Regions from separate parts of the Homo sapiens genome. Here all the other regions are linked to region 3. Evidence: promoter capture Hi-C in 16 types of primary human blood cells and fetal thymus (Javierre and others, 2016). All regions are on one chromosome and are shown on one strand. Each heading gives the region's core, a stretch centred on a gene start or on the middle of the fragment in contact. The rest is flanking DNA. Distances are from core to core; before and after follow the strand shown.

What was found. Contacts are between HindIII fragments. The CHiCAGO score rates a contact against its expected background, and 5 or more counts as called.
Region 1: a contact is called between the fragment with the promoter of FAAH here and the fragment with the promoter of TEX38 in region 3, in 6 of 17 cell types (erythroblasts, M0 macrophages, monocytes and 3 more). The highest score is 12.0, in erythroblasts.
Region 2: a contact is called between a fragment that was not itself captured here and the fragment with the promoter of TEX38 in region 3, in 1 of 17 cell types (erythroblasts). The highest score is 5.1, in erythroblasts.

What each region holds. Positions count from the first base shown.
Region 1 is chr1:46,391,927-46,395,941 of GRCh38, forward strand. It overlaps FAAH (fatty acid amide hydrolase), which reads left to right and starts at 2,391. Exons shown (of 15, transcript NM_001441.3): 1 at 2,391-2,617. The coding sequence starts at 2,423. RefSeq lists an enhancer at 2,279-2,792. The HindIII fragment of the contact is 1,150 bases long and covers 2,164-3,313 here.
Region 2 is chr1:46,365,531-46,369,132 of GRCh38, forward strand. It overlaps a transcript of NSUN4 not described here. Among named protein-coding and RNA genes, the nearest start is that of NSUN4, 27 kb to the left of the region's middle. The HindIII fragment of the contact is 730 bases long and covers 1,458-2,187 here.
Region 3 is chr1:46,670,474-46,674,540 of GRCh38, forward strand. It overlaps TEX38 (testis expressed 38), which reads left to right and starts at 1,381. Exons shown (of 2, transcript NM_001145474.4): 1 at 1,381-1,498; 2 at 2,400-3,121. The coding sequence starts at 1,462. The coding sequence ends at 2,983. EFCAB14-AS1 (EFCAB14 antisense RNA 1) reads left to right here and starts at 3,563. Exons shown (of 3, transcript NR_038828.1): 1 at 3,563-3,746. The HindIII fragment of the contact is 3,767 bases long and covers 394-4,067 here.

The DNA.
Region 1 (4,015 bases), core at 1,141-3,640, 280 kb before region 3:
TTGGGCCATCTGCCGGTTACTGGGTTAAGGAGTTTTGATTAGGGAGGTTACGGGTTGTCAGTGGCCTCAGTGCTTTTGGGCTACATCCTTGTTTACACTGACAACAAGGTGGTATTGGAGTGTTATAGGGTCATGGAGAAGACCTTCAATTATCAATTACAGGTTTTGAATTTTATCCTGGCTTTTAAAGGAATAGGGTACACTGTTTTCTCTTTACTACTTCTATCTCTCTTTCTCTCTCTCTCTCTTTGACTCTCTCTCTCTTTCCCTGTCTCTGACTCCCTCTCTCTCTCTCTTTTTCTTTTGAGACAGAGTCTAGCTCTATCACCCAGGCTGGAGTGCAGTGGCGCGATCTCGGCTCACTGCAAGCTCCGCCTCCCAGGTTCACGCCATTCTCCTGCCTCAGCCTCCTGAGTAGCTGGGACTACAGGCGCCCGCCACCACGCCTGGCTAATTTTTTTGTATTTTTAGTAGAGATGGGGTTTCACGGTGTTAGCCAGGATGGTCTTGATCTCCTGACCTCGTGATCCACCGGCCTTGGCCTCCCAAAGTGCTGGGATTACAGGCATGAGCCACCACGCCTGGCTTCTGTCTTTCTGTCTCTTTCTCTCTCTGCCTCTCTTTCTCTCTCTTTGCCTCTCTCTTTCTCTCCAACTTCCTCTCCCAGTTTCTCTTTCCTCTCTGCTGGTCTTTCCCTGCCTCTGCCAGCTGCTTATGCTGCTGTTCTCCCCTCTCCTTCCCCTTCCCCTAGGGAAGGGACCGTCAGGAGTGCAGCTACTTTTTCTTCCCCGAGAAGAAAGGAAAGGGGAATTCTGAATATTTTTCTTACTACCGGAGGTTTGTGTGAGGTTTTTGATCCCCTGAAATTTGTGGAAGGCTCAACACCTCAAACCAGGGGGTATCTTGCCTTGCCTGACCTGGAAGGCTCAACCCCTCAAACCAGGGGGTGTTTTGCCTTGCTGCCCTGGAAGGCTCAATCCCTCAAACTAGGAGGTGTCTTGCCTTGCTTCCCTGGAAGGTTGACCTGTTTCCTCCCTTTCCCCCTCTGAAGGTCCTTTGCACACTTCCCACTCGTGTTGTCCTCTCTGGCTGCTCCCCCAAGGGAGAATTAGGCCCCCCTCAGCATTGGCATTCCAGTAGAAATCCCACCGCAGGATCCTCCCTAAGCCATATGAGGTAGCTACGGAAACGTGGAGAGGACCCACTCACTCCGTCCAGCAGTAGGACTTGTCATCATCCACACGAACAACACCACAGGTAGGGTTGTTTGTGATCATTCACGCACACACACATTTAGCCCTCCAGAATTTGACCACCAAGGAAGTACCTTACCGGCTCCCTCGGCTTCTTCCTTTGTCTGTGCACAGAGTTGTCTCTGCAGTGTGTGAGGATGCTTTACCCTAGGTTGCCTGCTGGTTTCTTTTCACATTGCTGAGAGCTCAGGTTATTTCTTGCACTGGGTGAGTCCTGATTTCTCACCCCTGAGGCCATCACAAGAGGGTGGGGCATACCTCCTCAGGAGAGAGAACCAGAGACTGCCCCTGAAGGGGAATGTAATCACGAGCAAGCCCCCAAATTGTTATAAATAAAGTTTCCCCCCAGTGCCGCAAAAGAAATAGCACTCGAATATAAAATTTTCTTTTTTTTCTTCTCAGCAAGGCAATTTACTTCTATAGAAGGGTGCGCCCTCACAGACGGAGCAAAGGTGAGCGCACACCTGGACAAGGGAGGGGAAGGTGGTTCTTATGCCTGACCCACGTGATTCCTGATGCTGTGTCCTTCCCCTGTTGGCTAGGGTTAGACCTATAGGCTAAACTAATTCCGATTGGCTAATTTAAAGACAGTGAGGGGGTGAGTGGTTTGGCGGGAAAAATGGTTACCGCAGAGCAGGAAATCGGAATGAACCACGGTGAAGAATGAGTGAGGGAGGAGCAGGTAATCGAAAAATGTTGCTTTATGAGGAAGTTAAGTTTAAAAGTAGAAGGCAAAGAATTGAAGATACTGACATATTGATTCTTTTAAGATAAATTTAGAACTCATATCTAACAGCTGGCATGTCTGGCATGGGGCTCCGGCTGGGGCGCAGTCTTCAGCATTTGGGGCTCTGGGGTGCAGGGGGCAGAGGACGGCCGGGGCTGTGGTGCCCAACCGGTGCTAAACTCAAGCTTGGGAGGTCGCCCACGAGAAACAGTCGCCCTTCCCCACCCGCCTGCTCGGCTTGGCGGGGAGCGGGATGTCGCTGGGGGCGATGCCAGGCGGGCCGCCTCTGATAGCCTCTAGGCTCTGGCGCGCTTCCCCGCCCCTCCCGCGCAGGCGGGCGTGGGATCCCGGCTGATCCAGTCCGGGTTTTGCGGCGGAGCGGGCGGGCTGCGCGTGCGGCGGCTTCAACTGTCGCGGTAGGCAGCAGCAGGCTGAAGGGATCATGGTGCAGTACGAGCTGTGGGCCGCGCTGCCTGGCGCCTCCGGGGTCGCCCTGGCCTGCTGCTTCGTGGCGGCGGCCGTGGCCCTGCGCTGGTCCGGGCGCCGGACGGCGCGGGGCGCGGTGGTCCGGGCGCGACAGAGGCAGCGAGCGGGCCTGGAGAACATGGACAGGGCGGCGCAGCGCTTCCGGCTCCAGGTGACTGCCGGAGCGTAGTGGGATGGGCGCGGCCTGAGGGTACTCGCAGCGGCACTTTCAGCCGCCGGACCCGCCGAGGGACAGGGGATGGGGCGGGCAGAGCAGATGTGTAACTCTCCAGAATCTCTCCTTGCCCTAAGATATTCCGCACTTTCTGAGCCAGGTAGAGCACGGGGGAAGAAAGGAAACGGTAGTGTCAAGGCAGGTGGTGGAAGGCCTTTCCCTCACTGGGTCAAAGAGGAGTTTTGCTTTGTGCCAAAGAATCTCACGATTGCTGCCTATTGGAATGCGAAAACGCAAGCGTGACAACCAGTGGGATGCCAGGGGTTGAGGACTTTGGAATCGCAGAGTGTAATGGCCAAGGGGATCTGGAGAGCTTAGAGTTTTGTTTTTTGTTTTTTTTTGTTTTGTTTTGAGACGGAGTCTCGCTCTGACTCCCAGGCAAGAGTGCAGTGGTGCGATCTCGGCTCACTGCAACCTCCGCCTCCCGGGTGCAAGCGATTCTTGCTGCCTCAGCATCCCCAGTAGCTGGGATTACAGGGGCCCGCCACTACGCCTGGCTAATTTTTGCATTTTTAGTAGAGACTGGGTTTCACCATGTTGGCCAGGCTGATCTCAAACGCCTGACCTCAGTTGATACACCTGCCTCGGCCTCCCAAAGTGCTGGGCGTGAGCCACCGCGCCTGGCTGAGTTCAAGCTTCTTGATTTGTGCATTTGGATCCTAAGAGGGAGCCAGAAAGAAACCTGCCAAGTGCACAGGGAGATCTTGGCAAAGCCAGGCTAGAAGGGAAGTCTCTCTGGCTCCTGCTGTGGTGTCCAACCCCTGGCAAGCCCTTTCCATGAGCAGGTTTAGTTCCAGCCCTCCGTGGGTGGTCTGTCAACAAGCTTTTCTCCCTGCGCTGCCTTTGGATCACCTCAGTATGTGGGTTTGGAGGCGTGGAAGGGCCTGGCTGAGGGTTTGGAAGATGTGGCTTGAAGAGGGGCTTTTCCTCTGGGTGTGTGAAACACTGACCCCAGTTAAAGCCTTCTTATGTGCTGAGAGAGGGAGGGCTTGCTGTATCTGTGGGACCTGACAGGTGGGAAGGCTTTACAGGTTGGGAACCGCAGGACTCAGGAGGGTGTGCCTGGGTGGGAGACAGAAAGAGTCACAGAAAATTGTGTTCAGCAGATGTTCCGCAAGTGATTTTTGAGTTGGGGCAGAGCTGGAACTAGAACCTAGGTGCCCGCTGCACTCTGCAGCCACACTTTCGTGGAGAGGAACAGGAGAGAGATATGAGGAAGGCACCTTGCATGCCAGCCCAGGGTGTAGCCCTGCATGTTGAAGGGGGCCAGCCCCTCCACACCTGTGGGTATTTCTCCTCAGGTGGGACAAGAGACTGAGAAAAGAAATAAGACAC
Region 2 (3,602 bases), core at 573-3,072, 300 kb before region 3:
GGGGTTTCGCCATGTTGGCCAGGCTGGTCTCGAACTCCTGACCTCAGATGATCCACCTACCTCGGCCTCCCAAAGTGCTAGGATTACAGGTGTGAACCACTGTGCCCAGCCCATGTTTTCTTCTGAGTAAATACTTAGGGGTAGAATTGCTAGGTCATATGGTAAATGTATGTTTAACTTTATAAGGTACCACCATACTGTTTTCCAAAGTGGATCTACCATTTTGCACGGCCATCAGCAATGTATGAGAGGTCCATTTGCTCCACATCTTAGTACTAACACTTAGGATTATCAACGTTAAACTTTATTGTAGTGGGCCGGGCAGTGTGGCTTATGTCTGTAATCCCAGTACTTTGGGAGGCCGAGGCGGGCGGATCACTTAAGGTCAGGAGTTCAAGACCAGCCTGGCTAACATGGGAAAACCCCGTCTGTACTAAAAATGCAAAAATTAGCCGGGTGTGGTGGCACATACCTGTGATTCCAGCTACTTGGGAGACTAAGGCATGAGAATCACTTGCACCCAGGAGGTAGAGGTTGCAGTGAGCTGGGATTGCACCACTGTACTCCAGCCTGGGCAACAGAGGGAGACTCTGTCTCAAAAATAAATAATAAATAAAAACTTCATTCTAGTGGATGTATCTTGATACCTCGTTGTGGTCCTAATTTGCATTTCTCTAATGAGTAGTGATGCTATAAAATTAAATACAATTAAGAATTTAAAAACATGTAAAAAGAACATGTATGCAGTAAAACCATGTAAGAAGGAAAGAATGGTTCTCACTATGGAATTCAGTATAATGGTTCTTAGAGGTAGGGGGATAGGATGGGGCTGGAGGGAACATAAAGTTAGATTATTGTTAAGGCTCTAGCTTTTATGTTTGGTGCTTATTGAATTATTAAAAGCAGCTAAGTTAATAAAAAGTTATACATAAAAATTTGTTATTCATGACAAAAGTGATAAAAGTATGTTATAAACAAAGATTATGATTAATTCAATTTTGTACATCTGAGGTCTCCCTAAAAAAAGAGAAGGGGGTTGGCTGGGCATGGTGGCATGGTGGCTCATGCCTGTAATCCCAGTACTTTGGGAGGCCAAGGCAGGTGGATCACCTGAGGTCAGGAGTTCGAGACCAGGCTGGCCAACATGGTGAAACCCCATCTCTACTAAAAATACAAAAAAAAAAAAAAAAAAAAAAAAAGTGGGTAGAGAACCAAGCCCACAGAGAATAATAATGCAAAATATGGCTTAATGTAGGAGGGATCATATTGAGAGACCTGGAAGCTTAGCAGTATTGCCTCAGTCTTGTTCATGAGCTCCTCTTTCCTTGTGATTTGCAACAGTTGAACCACAGCAGAGGGTCAGGTATTGGGGCAGTTATGGGTCAATATACATTGATAGCTTGGATCTATGGTTTTCACCTTTTAGGAGTCACAAATCTGTTTGAGAGACTGGTAAAAGCTTTGGCCGTTCTCAGAAAAATAAAGACAAAAAACACCATAGCATTTTACATATAATTTCAGGGGCTTTGGTACTTCCTAAGGCCTATCTCCCCCAAGTTAAGAACCTTTGGATTAGAAGATCTCAGATTTGAGGGTCTTTAGTGGAAGGCAAGGGGGTCAAGCAGAGACCCCAGTAACAACTCAAATCACCACTCTCACCCCTGCCAATCTGCCCTTCTTCCCATCTGCATTCTTCATCTCCAAACTTAACACCACCCTTTACCCTGCTGCCCATGCCAGAAACTGCAGCTATCCTTGATGCAGTGACAGTAATCACTACTGTATATCGAACGTACCTGAGCCAGGCCCATGTGAAAAAAGCATTGTTTTACTTACATCATTGTTTCTTACTTTCACAGAAACCCTGGGATATGCTCTTTTTTGTTGTTGCCTATTTATTATAAAACTTTGAAAGAGTTATTCGTTAATTTGAACATTTTCATCCATTTTGTGGCTTTTCTTTGCACTATTTTTATGGTGTGTTTTTATTGCAGGGCAGGCAAGCCTCAAAACTGGGGCTTAGCCTGGGAGAAAGCCAGGAAAGAATTCAAGGGCAAGCTAGTGGTGTTAGACAGCAATCTTTTATTGAACAGTACTGCTCCTTGCAGAGTAAGGCTAACTCATAGGCAGCAAATCCAGAGTCAGCTGATATACTCTTTTTAGTCCCATTTTATAGAGAAGGAAACAAGCTTAGATTGCTTAAGTAACTCAAAAAGTTACAATCTGAAATTTCTTTTTTTTTTTTTTTTTTTTTTAAGACAGGGTCTGGCTCTCACCAGGGTGGAGTGCCGTGGTGTGATCTCGGCTCACTGCAACCTCCGCCTCCCAGGCTCAAGTGATCCTCCTGCCTCAGCCTACTGAGTAGCTGGGACTACAGGCACATGCCACCGCGCCTGGCTAATTTCTGTATTTTTAGTAGAGATGGGGTTTCGCCATGTTGCCCAGGCTGGTCTTGAACTCTTGAGCTCAAGTGATCAGCCTGCCTTGGCCTCCCAAAGTGCTAGGATTACAGGCATGAGCCACTGCGCCCAGCCACAATCTGAAATTCCTTTCTTGAAATGTCGCTTATATTTCTCTCCTTCCTAGCATTCCTACCTTAGGTAGGGCCTTATCATTTCTCACTGATCAAAGGCAGTAGCCTCAAAACTCATTTCTATTACTCCAATCAGCCCTAAATTCTTCCATTCTCCCCCATCCTCTCATGCCACCCCTTATCTGTTGTGTGATCGCCGATCACAATAATTCCTCCCATCCTGTCCCAGTACAATGTGACTTTGCTGCTTCTGTCATTAAGAGATGGAGTCTGTTTCCCCACCTCTTGAATCTGGGCTGATCTTATGATTTGTTTTGACCAGTAAAGTCTGGTGGAAGGGATGCTGTGCAACTTCTGCATGTAGGCCTCAAGAAGCCTCGCAACTTCCACGCTCATTTTGGAGCTCTTCTGCGGCTCTGTGAAGAAGCCTGGACCAATCTGCTGGAGACATGTGCTGGAAGCTGTCTTAGACCTCCTAAGCTCAGTTAAACGGTTAGGTGACCCAAACAGCATGAGTGACCCCAGCCAAGACCAACCTAAATCGCTGACCTCCAGAATCATGAACAAATAAAGTAGTGGTTGTTTTAAGCCAGTAAGTTTTGGAAATGGTTAAGTAAATTTAAATAAAATTTTAACATATGTCATTTGTGTTAGTAAGTAACACAAATCTGAGTGTCATTCATCTGCTTATAATTCTTTGTTCTTTAGGCTGGGCATGGTGGTTCATGCCTGTAATCCCGGCACTTTTGGAGGCCAAGGCAGGAGGGTCGCTTGAAGCCAGAAGTTTGAGACCAGCCTGAGCAACATAGGGAGAACCCATTTTTACAGAAAGATCCTTTGTTCTCTCTCCATTGCCAGCAGGATCAAGTCCAGACTTTTGCCCTGATCCCTGGTTGTTGATGCTGTTTTATCTGTGTCTGTCATGCCTTGCTGCTCCCCTTTTGCACAAATTCTTTGTCTATCCATGCATAGCATACCCCAATGCTTCTGGGTCAGGACAAATTGTCTCCTCTGTCTAAATGCCTTTTCCCTTGTGCTTTCTTGCTAGCTCAAATGTCCACCCCTCTGG
Region 3 (4,067 bases), core at 131-2,630:
GTCAACCAGGTATTTGGGTATGAGTCTAAAGTTCTGAGGAGCATTCCAGGCTGGAGAGATACAGTTGCGTACTGTCAGTGTATAGTGATATTTAAAGCCAGGGGTCTGGGTGAGATAACTGATGGAATGAATGTAGATAGAGCACTAAGAACTGAGCCCTAGACATGCCTACATTTAGAGATCAGGGGAAAAGGGAGAAACCAGCAAAGGAGACTGGAAAGTAGGGGCCAGTGATATACGAGGAGAACAAGGGTAAGTGGACCCTGGAGAGAATTCTGTGCTAAATAGTTCCCTAAGTCACACATTGGAGGACTATAAAGAGGGGAGTCATTAAAATGGTGCTAAGAAGCTGAGCTACAAGCAGTGGTGCAACATACTGGGAAGGCTGACTTAAGCTTAATTAGGGAAGGGCTTTCTAACTGAGCTGCCCATAAATGCATCAAGCTGCCTCAGGAGGTGGTGAGCAAGTTCCTGACTCAAGTGAGTCTTGAGTCCAGGGAGATTAGTTGCTGTGTGGGGAAAAATCTACCCCCAGGAGTCAAGCATGGCCCTGATGGTGGGATCAGATGGTGGAGATGAACTAGACAACTCTCAAAGTTTCTTCAAATTGGCGATGATATGATTCTGGGCAGTCTGTCACAGAGTAGGGGGGCTGAGCTGAGTCTTGAAGGATGAGCAGGTGTTCAGTGGTGGAAAAGTGGGCAGGGGCACTCCTGGGTGAAGGAGCAGCATGGGCACACCTCCAGAGATGTGAATGAGCAGGGTCTGTTCAGGAGTACGGACTAGGCAAAAGGGAAAAGTGTGTGGAGGACGAGGAGGGAAGTAAGGCTGGAAGTAGATGCAGGCCAGATGGTGGGAAGCCCCACAGGGCCTGGGGCCTGGGAAACACTTGTCAGCACTTGAAGGAAGGTAATTAAATAAAAGACAGATTGTTGGAGCCAAAGAAGGAGGTATTGACCACTTGGTTCCCTTGAGCAGGTTTCTTCCTGCCAACTTGGTTAGATACTTTTTGAGAACAGGGCTGCCCAATGCTGTGTGTTCCTTGTTACATTCCTCACTGGGGACAGGTATCCCATCAACCGTTCCCTAAAGACCAGCAACATCCGTAAGTACCTGAGGGACAATGGCCCTTTTCTGGGGTCTGCTCTGTGGGTTCACCATAAGGGGTAGGTACAGACAATTCAATAGGTGAACCAGTCTCTGATGGAAGTAGTAGTGACATTCCACCCAAAAAATGCCACTGGATGAAGTCCCCTCCTTCCATTAACCCAGGACCACTTCACAAGCACTGCCCCTAGAATGCCCAATTCTCAGAACCCAGTGACCTCTCCTTTAGAGAACAAAGGGCCTGGGCATTCTGGAGACTCTGATTGGCTGGGCAGATGGGCTGACTGGCTGGGCAGATGGGTGGGTGAGTTCCCTCTCCCCAGAGCCATCGGCCAGGTACCAAAGCTCAGCTGTATGGATTCCCAACAGGAGGACCTGCGCTTCCCTGGGAGTAAGTGCTCCTCCAGTCCCTGTCACTGGACTTGTGCCTTAGGGCTTGGGGACAAACACTCAGGGAAGGCCCTTTGCATGGATGGGACAGTGCCTGGCTGCCTGGAGGAGAGCTAAGCAGTTAGGAGATAGTCTACTCTAGAAAACTAAGAATTATTTTAAGGCAAAGACCATGCTCTGATCAACCAGAGAAGATACTATCAATAGCCCAGGACTATCACAGCTGAATGGAATGGGATGGGACATTGGTGTCTCTGTCAACTGATGAACTTTCACTTTTTTTTTTTTTTTTGAGATGAAGTTTTGCTCTGTTGCCCCGGCTGGAGTGCAGTGGCTCAATCTAGGCTCACTGTAACCTCCACCTCCTGGATTCAAGTGATTCTCCTGCCTCAGCCTCTGAAGTAGCTGGGACTGCAGGCATGCACCACCACACCTGGCTAATTTTAAAATTTTTAGTAGAGACGGGGTTTCACCATGTTGGCCAGGCTGGACTTGAAGTCCTGACCTCAAGTGATCTGCCCACCTGGGCCTCACAAAGTGCTGGTGAACTTTTGCTTCTTGATGGACTTGCCCATAGTGAAACTTCTCAGTCTGATGGATTGGATGGGTCCTGGGTTAGGAATCAGAGGCTTGACTGAGCCTGGGCAGCACATGCCCCCGCTAGACCTAGCTTTTGTGATCTGTAAAGAGTTAAAGGTGGTGCTTAAGCTCCCTGGAAATCTAGCTTTGACTGAATAAGGGAATGATGAGGCAAGTCAATAAGGGAGGGAAGGAACGGTGAGAGTAGTTAAGTGGATGGAGCGATTGATGCATGGGTTAAGTGAAAGAGGAATGAGAAACAGCTCAGGCCCCAAGCTACAGCTATCAGCCAGCATGCCTCTTTTTCTTTCTTGCTGCCTTAGTGTGGGTCTCATTGTACTTTGGAATCCTGGGGCTGTGTTCTGTGATAACTGGAGGGTGCATTATCTTTCTGCACTGGAGGAAGAACTTGAGGCGGGAAGAGCATGCCCAGCAGTGGGTGGAGGTGATGAGAGCTGCCACATTCACCTACAGCCCATTGTTGTACTGGATTAACAAGCGACGGCGCTACGGCATGAATGCAGCCATCAACACGGGCCCTGCCCCTGCTGTCACCAAGACTGAGACTGAGGTCCAGAATCCAGATGTTCTGTGGGATTTGGACATCCCCGAAGGCAGGAGCCATGCTGACCAAGACAGCAACCCCAAGGCGGAAGCCCCTGCTCCCCTGCAACCTGCACTGCAGCTGGCTCCACAGCAGCCCCAGGCCAGATCCCCATTCCCACTTCCCATCTTTCAGGAGGTGCCCTTTGCCCCACCCTTGTGCAACCTACCCCCCCTGCTGAACCACTCTGTCTCCTATCCTTTGGCCACCTGTCCTGAAAGGAATGTTCTCTTCCATTCCCTCCTGAATCTGGCCCAGGAAGACCATAGCTTCAATGCCAAGCCTTTTCCTTCAGAACTGTAGCCTCCTCTCACTGAAGGTGGGAGCTGCAGGAATCAGGTGCAGAGTAGGAAATGGAACTAACCTCAGGAAGGTGGTATTGACAGAGGTCAGGACCCACCTGGATGTCATGCTATGAAACATTAAAAGAAAAAAAAAAAAGTCCAAGGCTCCCTCGTTTCTCATTTGCTGTTAGGAAGGCAATGTCCTTCCTGTCTGATGGGGTCACTTTGCAAACCAAGTTGGTTGCTGAGTCTCACCAATATGAACTGGCACTGGTGGTTGGCTGTGGGGAGACACACTGAACCAGTACTTGTGGATGGACTCAATATCCCTCTGTTCAGTATTTAAAACAAAAATGTGTGCCAGGCCCTGGCCTAGGTACCCCAAGGCACTGGTGTTCTGTGGGATGTGAAGCACAGCTGCCACCAGAGTGATAGCTGCTGAGGGTACGTGAGCTATGTTGATTTACAGTCGCTATGTCACAGGCAAAATGAGTCATCACGAGCCCTGTGAGCCACACTGCACTATGGGCTGAAATGCATTCTTTGTTATTATCTATGATGTATGCAGCTCTTACGTGGTTGCCTCTTTACATTATTTCTAATAATTCACAAGAACACTGCCAAATGGATATCATGATCCTCCTCTTATGGATGAAGAGACAGGTTCCAAGGGCATATGCCATACCTTTCTTAGTTGCAGAGCCAGTTCTCAAATCTACATCTGCCTTGCATCAAAGTTACTGGTATGAAAGTTATTGATCATCAGTTGCTTGGCATCAAAGGTACTGATCTTCCCACCATACGCCATAGTGCCCCTTCCCTAATGATATGTCGTGTTAGAAAACACTTGGTGAATGCTTCGGATTGTATGTAGGGTGTCATTAAGTTGGTCCATGAACTGGCTTGGAGGAAGGGCTGGTCAGTGAACTGCCTAAAATTATACGTAGACATATATCCATAGTTTTTACCTTTCCTACAGGAATCCATGTCCCCCTCCCAAAAGTTAAGATCCACCACATGGGAATATTAATAATTTTTGTACTTCTGGAAATGGTTCTAAAAGGTGAGACAAAGATAATACTGCCCATTTGGCTGCAGTTTTG